Regions from separate parts of the Homo sapiens genome. Here all the other regions are linked to region 3. Evidence: promoter capture Hi-C in 16 types of primary human blood cells and fetal thymus (Javierre and others, 2016). All regions are on one chromosome and are shown on one strand. Each heading gives the region's core, a stretch centred on a gene start or on the middle of the fragment in contact. The rest is flanking DNA. Distances are from core to core; before and after follow the strand shown.

What was found. The method cuts DNA at HindIII sites, captures the fragments that hold promoters and counts their contacts. A CHiCAGO score of 5 or more calls a contact.
Region 1: a contact is called between a fragment that was not itself captured here and the fragment with the promoter of TMX3 in region 3, in 1 of 17 cell types (naive B cells). The highest score is 5.9, in naive B cells.
Region 2: a fragment that was not itself captured here is called in contact with the fragment with the promoter of TMX3 in region 3 in 1 of 17 cell types (activated CD4 T cells); the score reaches 5.7 in activated CD4 T cells.

What each region holds. Positions count from the first base shown.
Region 1 is chr18:67,599,227-67,601,926 of GRCh38, reverse strand. All of the region lies in intron 1 of DSEL-AS1 (DSEL antisense RNA 1), which reads right to left. All of the region lies in intron 1 of LOC105372174 (a long non-coding RNA gene), which reads left to right. Among named protein-coding and RNA genes, the nearest start is that of DSEL, 84 kb to the right of the region's middle. The HindIII fragment of the contact is 2,932 bases long and covers 1-2,700 here.
Region 2 is chr18:69,898,226-69,901,231 of GRCh38, reverse strand. All of the region lies in intron 2 of CD226 (CD226 molecule), which reads left to right. Among named protein-coding and RNA genes, the nearest start is that of CD226, 48 kb to the left of the region's middle. The HindIII fragment of the contact is 3,508 bases long and covers 1-3,006 here.
Region 3 is chr18:68,713,611-68,716,474 of GRCh38, reverse strand. TMX3 (thioredoxin related transmembrane protein 3) reads left to right here and starts at 1,367. Exons shown (of 16, transcript NM_019022.5): 1 at 1,367-1,539; 2 at 2,575-2,629. The coding sequence starts at 1,494. It also overlaps a transcript of CCDC102B not described here. RefSeq lists an enhancer at 1,040-1,109 and silencers at 1,310-1,439, 1,620-1,719. The HindIII fragment of the contact is 941 bases long and covers 887-1,827 here.

The DNA of each region.
Region 1 (2,700 bases), core at 95-2,594, 1.1 Mb after region 3:
GTTCTGGAAAACTTGCTGCAGCTTCTACATCATCACTTGCTGCTTCACTTTGTACTTTTATGTTATAGAGAAAACTTCTTCCCTAAAATCTCATGAACCAACCTCTTCTGGGTTCCAACTTTTCTTCTGCAGCTTCCTCACCTTTTTCAGCCTTCATAAAATTGAAGAGAGTTAGGGTTATTCTCTTGATTAGTATTTGACTTAAGAGAATTTTTTGGCTCAATGGATCTTCAAACCAGACGACTAAAATTTTCTCCATCAGCAATAAGCCTGTTTTGCTTTCTTATCATTTGTGTGATCACTGGAGTAGCACTTTTAATTTCCTTTAAGAACGTCTCCTTCACATTTTCAACTTGCCTACCTGTTTCATACAAGAGGCCCACCTCTTGGCCTATCTCCACTTTTGACATGACTTTTGCAGTAAGTTTCATCATTTCTAGTTTTAAAGTCAAAGACATGTAACTCCTCCTGTCACTTGAATACCTACAGGCTATTGTAGGGTTATTAGTCTGCCTAATTTTGATATTGCTGTACCTTAGGCAACAGGGAGGCCTGAGGAGAGGAAGATGAGGAAACAGCTGGTTGATGAAGCAATCAGAACACACACACATTTATCAAGTTCCCTGTCTTATATAGGTAGAGTTCATGATGCTCTCAAAACAATTGCAATAGTAACATCAAAGATCACTATTCACAGATCACCATAACAGATACAGTATTAATGAAACAGTTTGGAATATCATACAAATTAGTAAAATGTGACACAGAGACACCAAGCGAGCACATGCTGCTGAAAAAAATGGCACCAATATACTTGCTCAAAGCAGGGTTGCCACAGACCTTCAATTTGTAAAGAATACAATATCTGAGAAGCACAGTAAAATGAGGTATGCCTGTATTTAGGGTAAGAAATTACTGAAAAAAAAAAGGGCTCATTTTTCTTGGAAATTATTACTCATCAAAAATTGCTTGGAGGAGAACATTAAAGGTTATGTGAGCACTGGATTTCTTTTAAACCTCAGAGATACATGGCTTAGCTACTGTTATAAAAACATTTAGGGAAGTAAAAGGATAATTTTCCAATTCATCAAGAATAAAAAGGCTTTTTGTCACTGACTACTTTTGAAAATTTTGGCTACCCTTCTTTTTTTTACTGGAGGAATAAAAACAAGGAAAAATGATGTTTATGGCTTTTCCAGAATTTTAGAGTAGTTTCTTCCATAGCTGAGATCATTCTCTAATGGTATTTCCATTCAGAAAAACCCACAAACATTTTGTCTGTCTCTTTCTCCCTATGAATTTTAATGGAAAACAGTGTCAAAATAAAAAGAAGCTCATACGTAAGCTGTTTTGAGATTGCCATGAGTTAAATTTCATGGTGTTTTCAGTAAGCCTTCGCAACTGCTCTTTGAATTTGCCCTAAAGGACACTAAAGTTTCATTAATTATTAATGACTTTTAGGGAGGGGAGTGTAAAAATAAATCTCTTTTCCACTAAGTACATTACAACTGACATACCGCACACAGCCACACATGCCTGACTAATACCCACATCTGGCTTCTGAATCAAGAGATAGGACTCTGTGTGGAATGCTGCAGGGCGAGTGAAAGGGTCGTCTGTGCTCCTGTCACACTATACGTCCTCCTCTTTCAAGGGTTTCTATTACACCCTAATGCTGTCATTGAAATAAAAATAACTTCAATACTTGTTTATGTCACAACTGCACTACTCAGTTCTAAGGCTTTTCAGATCCCAAACTACTGCAATCAACTTTCCCATATTTATCACCATAGACCTGGTTGATTTAGTGGCAAAGACATCAATATTTTTACCCTAATTGTGTGAAATCCCGTAATCAAAACTATTTACATATGATATGCTTACTATTGATTTGTACACATTTTTATGCCTTATACTAAACAACGTAATTCATTTGGAAATGAAAAATAAAACATGTTGTGCCCATACTCAGCAAGTATACCCAAAGCACAGCAGTTAATACTATGGTCAGATAGAATCAAGACTGGCATGGGAGCTGGTTAACACACTTCCCACAGATTGTTGCAATGAAAACGAGGATCCCAAATCATATTCATTTTCCTGAAAATTTGTGGTTCTAATGGTGCCATGTAATTCTAAATATTACTTCATCACATTATTTACTTTCTATTATAAATACGAAATTAAATTTATTATCCTTTATAAATGCTACACATTCTGGCACATTTTAGAATTCAAGGATTTCTTTCATTTCAAGGTATTCAGAAAGTGACACCCACTCACGTCATACCAAAATGTAATGGGGACAGTTCCAGGTGCCAAGCCAGACAGCTGAGAACATTTGCACTGTGCTTCCAGCTGAAGGTGTTTAAGTGAAGCTCCTTATCAGTTGGAAAAGATTTGTGCCAGTGGTTAGATCTGGGAGCTCTGGAGACCAGATGTGGTTTTGTAGTCCACATTGAACTTGAGCTAAATATAGGCGATAAATATAAGTCAAGTACAGATTCCAATACAGATTTACAAATTAGAAGCCATGAGGGAACCAACAGCTACTGAAGATGACTCATCTGTTGGAATTTAACTTTCACTAAATACTCAGAATAAAATGAGGTGATATTCAGGAAGGAAATCTATGAGGCAAATAGATGAAGAATTTGCTTATTGCTAAATTTGTACTATAGGGGAAGTGAAAATGTGTTT
Region 2 (3,006 bases), core at 160-2,659, 1.2 Mb before region 3:
ACACATTGTTACTGTGTAATACCTCCCTTTAACCTGTAGGTTGATTCCTCTCCACCTTTCATTTTTTTGTTGTTGTTGTCACCTTGAGTTTTTCATATTCCCGTGGGCTGCTTTCCCATGGTGGCATTTGATACGTTTCTCTGCTCTTTGCAGTTCTGTAAGTTGGTGGTTAGATTTGGAGGCTTGATTAGCATCAGGTTTGATTATTTTGACAAGGCTATGACTTCCAAGGTGGTACTGTGGAAACATAAATGGCATTTGTGAATTTGCAGACACTGAGGATTGTTGCCTAGAACTCTCAATTCGTTTAGGCATGACTAATACTATTTTAAATATATTTCTTAATATTAGGGTTATTATAGATGTAAATCTCCCCCAAAATCAATAAAAATACATGCACATTGAGTGCAAATGAATTGCAAATTAATTTTTTCAAGTGTTTAAAGTCAGAAATACAGTTTTATTTTATTAGAAATTTTTTTTTTTTTTTTTTGAGACGGAGTCTCGCTCTGTCGCCCAGGCCGGACTGCGGACTGCAGTGGCGCAATCTCGGCTCACTGCAAGCTCCGCCTCCCGGGTTCACGCCATTCTCCTGCCTCAGCCTCCCGAGTAGCTGGGACTACAGGCGCCCGCCACCGCGCCCGGCTAATTTTTTGTATTTTTAGTAGAGACGGGGTTTCACCTTGTTAGCCAGGATGGTCTCGATCTCCTGACCTCGTGATCCGCCCGCCTCGGCCTCGCAAAGTGCTGGGATTACAGGCGTGAGCCACCGCGCCCGGCCAGAAAAATTTTTAAAAAAACTTTTAGGTTTGTGGGTACATGTGAAGGTTTGTTGCATAGGTAAATATGTGTCACAGGGGTTCATTGTACATATTATTTCATCACCAGTTATTAAGCTCAGTAACTAAGAGTTCTCTTTTCTGCTTCTCTCCCTCCTCCCACCCTCCGCTCTCAACTAGACCCAGTGTCTGTTGTTTCCTTCTTTATGTTCCTAACTTCTTATCCTTTAGCTCCCATTTGAAAGTGAGAACATGTGGTATTTGGTTTTCAATTCCTGCATTAGTTTACTGAGGATAATAGCCTCCAGCTGCATCCATGTTCCCACAAAACATATGATCTCATTCTTTTTTATGGCTGCATAGTATTCCATGATGAATATGTAACACATTTTCTTTATCCCATCTGTCACTGATGGACGTTTAGGTTGATTTCATGTCTTTGCTATTGTGATTAGTGCTGCAGTGAACATTCATGTACATATGTGTCTTTATAGTGGGATGATTTATATTCCTCTGGGTATATGCCCAGGAATGGGATTGCTGGGTCAAATGGTAGTTCTGCTTTTATCTCTTTGAGGAATTGCCATACTGCTTTCCACAATGGTTGAATTAATTTACACTCCCACCAACAGTGTATAAGTGTTCCCTTTTCTCTGCAACCTCACCAGCATCTGTAATGTTTTGCCTTTTTAGTAATAGCCATTCTGACTGGTATGAGATGGTGTCTCATTGTCATTTTGGTTTGCCTTTCTGTAATGATGAGTGATATTGAGCTTTTTGTCATATGCTTGTTGGCCACGTATATGTCTTCTTTTGAGAAGTGTCTGTTTGTGTCCTTTACCCACTTTTTAATGGGGTCGTTTTCCTCTTGTAAATTTGCTTAACTTCCTTATAGATGCTGGATATTAGACCTTTGTCAGATGCATAGTTTGCAAATATTTCCTCCCATTCTTTAGGTTGGCAAATTTTTTATCCAAAAAATATTGATTGACTTCTCTACTTTATGCCAAGCATGGTTCTAGGTGCTAAGTACAGAGCAGTGTAAAATGGTCTAGCTATACAGAGGCTTGGGTTTACGAAGCTGACAGTAAAATGACTCAGGGTTTTGTGAAGTGGGTGAAGGATTTTGCAGAGCTGCTCAAACTGCATATGCAGAACTGTTGACCAGTGAGGATGGTGAGGAGGACAGGTCAGTAGCCAGGGAGGCGCTAGTGGGCAGGGGCAGTGGCATGATGTGAAGATGTACCCAGCAATGTTTGGGGTACCCAGGACATGAGCAGTGGTTGGAAAAGTGATGAAGCACTGAAATAATTTCCAAGGATGATTTGTGGTCAAGCCAGAGAAGCCACATACAAAATAGAGAATATTTAATCATGATATCCTGCAATAAAAATCATGGGAAAACAACACAGTCTATTCAATGTTTATTCTAAGTATTAATACGTAGCTACATATAAGTATAAGCTGGTTTTCATTATTTGTATTTGTTTTATTGAAATCAAATTTTTTTCTTCCCAATTAACTACGACATTTTGGTCTGTTTCACGTGAATCCACTTTCCAATTCCAAGTTCATCAGGATCCCACGGTTCTCTTGTTTGTGTGGGCTCTTTCTGGCAGTTCTTTTCAAGGTCATTTTGAGCTGCCTTCCACTGAGCTTTGCAGGAAGAGCCTGTGGTCTGAGAAGCCACAAGCAATATCTGAGGCAAGGCAGGTTTGGCCGACCTCGTAATAGGTCTTGATTTTCATCTAACACCAATCAGTTACTCTGTTTGTCAGGAAAGGTTAATCAGGGGCTACTCTGAGCTTCTGAACCACCTGGCTCTAGGGTTGGGAACCACTTCTTTCACCTCCAGGCTGAGTCTATTGAGAGGCGGGTCTAGGTCCTCACATGGAGCCTCTGCTGTAACCTCCCTGCACTTTGCTCCCCAAAGACAGCTGCATCCCCTCTAGGATTTTCCCCATTGCTTCCTGCATTGTCCTTTGTGAAAATGCAGACACGGCTATGAGTAGACCCCTGTTTCTACCTGAGTCGGCAGGTTCACGGGGGCCTGACAGCATGGTTTTGGTTAGATAGGCAGACAAAGGAAACTCCTGAGATTGGACGGGGCGGCATCCAGAGAGAAGAAGAAGAAAAACACAAAACAGTTGTGCGTGTGAGCACTGAGGACACGCATTCACGCTGCCTCTTACTTCCCAGGGACCAGAAGGGCTCACATGAAAGTCGA
Region 3 (2,864 bases), core at 118-2,617:
AAAAGCTCAATAGCCACATGTGGTTAGTGGCTACACTACTGAAAAGCACAGATCTAGGTCAACTGGCTTTTGTTGTTGTCCACATGTGAACTTAAACTGTAACGCAAATATAAGAGGAAATTATTTCACTTTGCATGCTGTGGAAGACAGAAAACTTTGAAATACATGAGAATGAAAAAAAAAAATTGAATATGGGTCATTCAGAGACCTTGCCAAGAAAGTAGAAAAGCTTCTGTATAAGAGTATCGAGGCGATGGTACTATTATAAAGCTGTTCCACCACCACCGGGAGAACATTCCCATCATTTCAACAGTCCCCTTACGTTTTAGTCTACTTTTTTCTTAAAAAAAAAAGAAAAAAAGGAAAAGAGAAAGAAAAAGAAAAATTGAATCTGTAGAGGGCTTGCGCTGGATACCATGCTGCATGCACAAAGGGGGTGACATTTAGGGCTTGCTCTCAATTAGAGTGCAATTTAATCTTCTAGTCACTAGGAATAACGACGTTTTATGACATTTTTGCCTGTTGGAATTTTGAACCTAAGGTGAACCGGCTGACATCATATCCCCCTTCTGTTGTTGTCACAGGTTTTCAAAATTTGGTTTGATCTAAATTCTCTGGTACCTTATGTCCCATAAAAATTTCATCTAGTTCGTAAGTAGTGATTGCTGCAGTAACCGTCTTATAAAAGTATATGGTTTTTACAAATCATTGTCGTATAGAAGAAAAAACAGGTAGCAATATAAATATTTCATACTACTTTATCTAGTTCCAAAATAATCAGAAAAGAGCCATCAAAAAATATCCTACGCTTAACTTCATGTTCTCAAGTTTCAAGAGAAAGTTTTTAAAGAGGCAATCCTTACTTTGGCAAAAATGCATTAAAGCTTGCTGCATTTAAGAGATGTCCCATTATGCAAACAGGTTGAAAGAATATTACAAATACGTTTTGGAAAAATACGGAGTGTCGCGCAGCTCAGCAATCCGCAGTCTTAATGCGCGCCTCTTTCCAGGAATTTGATCCAGCATCAAAACCCACAGGTGCACTCACCACACGGGAGTAACAAGTAAATGATGTGCCAGTATTCAACCTGCAAGTGCGTCGTCAGAGCCTACCTCACCCTCAGCATAACTTTCACCGGTATTCACCTTCCCGGAAACGCGCCCCAGTGAACCAGCACCGTTTTCCCTAGTAAAGCCCTTAAGCAGGGTTCCCACGCTCCTGGGCGTGGAGGGGGGCACCGAGAGCGCAAAGGATTCTTAAGACATGACTGCGCAGGCGCTGTCGCATGCGCCGCACTCCCCTCGCATGCGCCGCACTCCCGCGCATAGCCGGAGACGGAGACTGGCCGGGTAGCCCCGCCCCCGTAGTTAGCGCGGTGCTTCTCTTCCGCTCCGGGTCGGCTCCGTTTCCCTTTCCGGGCGGGCAGGCGGCGGACCCCAGTGTCTTTATCCCTCTTTTGCACAGTCAGCTTCTGCAGCTCTCCCGGGCTAGCATGGCAGCGTGGAAGAGTTGGACGGCCCTGCGGCTCTGCGCCACAGGTAATGGGGGCTCAGCGGTCGGGACGCTGGCGGGCGCGTGGGACCTGGCCCCGCCGTGGGGCCGGGATTGGACCCGGGTCTGGGGCGAGGCCTGCGGGGTTCGTGGAGATGCCCACCCATTCCCGGCAGCGTCCTGCCGCCCCCGCCGCGCCACCCTGCCTGGCCCTGACGGAGCGGACACCTTGGGGTCCTTCCGCCGCCGCTGTGCCGGACCAATGCTGGACGTGGGAAGGGCGCGCTGCCTTGTGTTTGTGTTTTTCTCATTGTGGCAGAAGTTTCAATAAAGCTTACTCCTTTGATGGGCAAGAAGGATGCCGCCGTCCCAGCTTAACGACCAAATCTTGCCTTGGCTTTAGGTTCCGAGTCTTGTCACGTTTAAGGATTTTTACCACCAGTACTCAAGAGAGGGTGGTCGAGGACAGATCAGGGTCAGGCCGCCGGGATTGTGCGGTGTGAAAAGGACCTGAGTGTGTGTCAGCGGTTCTCAGCTGCCTCCCGTCAGCATGGAGTGCCCTCATTCTCACTGGGGTCCGCTCACTTAACAACCTTTTAGAGCCCACTCTGTGTCAGGCACTGCCGTGTAATAAGTATTAGAGTTGCAGCTCGACTTTCTTCCTACGTATCTATTTGAGGGGAAATATTTTGAATGGCATTTGGAGTTTTTACGGAAGAGGTAATTGCTACTAAAGCAAAAGAAATAAAGAAGAATGCTGTCTATTTGTATTCCAAAAAGATAGGATGGTTAAAAAGAGACGTAAGATGAGAGTGAAAATATGGAGGAAAAAGGAACTGTGTGTATTAGATTTATTGGCTTACCTAGAACTTGGCCGGTCACGATATGGTTGCATACAGACTAAATATTTATTAAATGGATGAACTACCTTTGCTTTTGCATCATTTGCACCCTGGGATGCATCAGTGATGAATTTTTTGGTAGGTTGTGAAAGGTCAAAAACACTTCAGAGATGACTAAGCTTATACGGTATGAGCCAAATAATCAGCATTTATTGTGTACATTTTGTCTTTTTTTTTCAGTTGTTGTACTTGATATGGTCGTCTGTAAAGGATTTGTAGAAGATTTAGATGAATCGTGAGTATACATATATATATTTAAAATATTATTTTAACTGTCCAACTCAGATATCTGAATATTTGCATGTGATTCTAATATTTTAGATTGGAACCAATTTTTATATATCACTCATTTTTTTCACTTGTTGTAAGTGAAGGTGAGGGTGTGCCCAGAAGAGTTTTATTAATAGTTATGAGATCAAAAAACTGTGGCAAACTTTTACATATTCTTTTTTTCCTCATTATCTTACCTT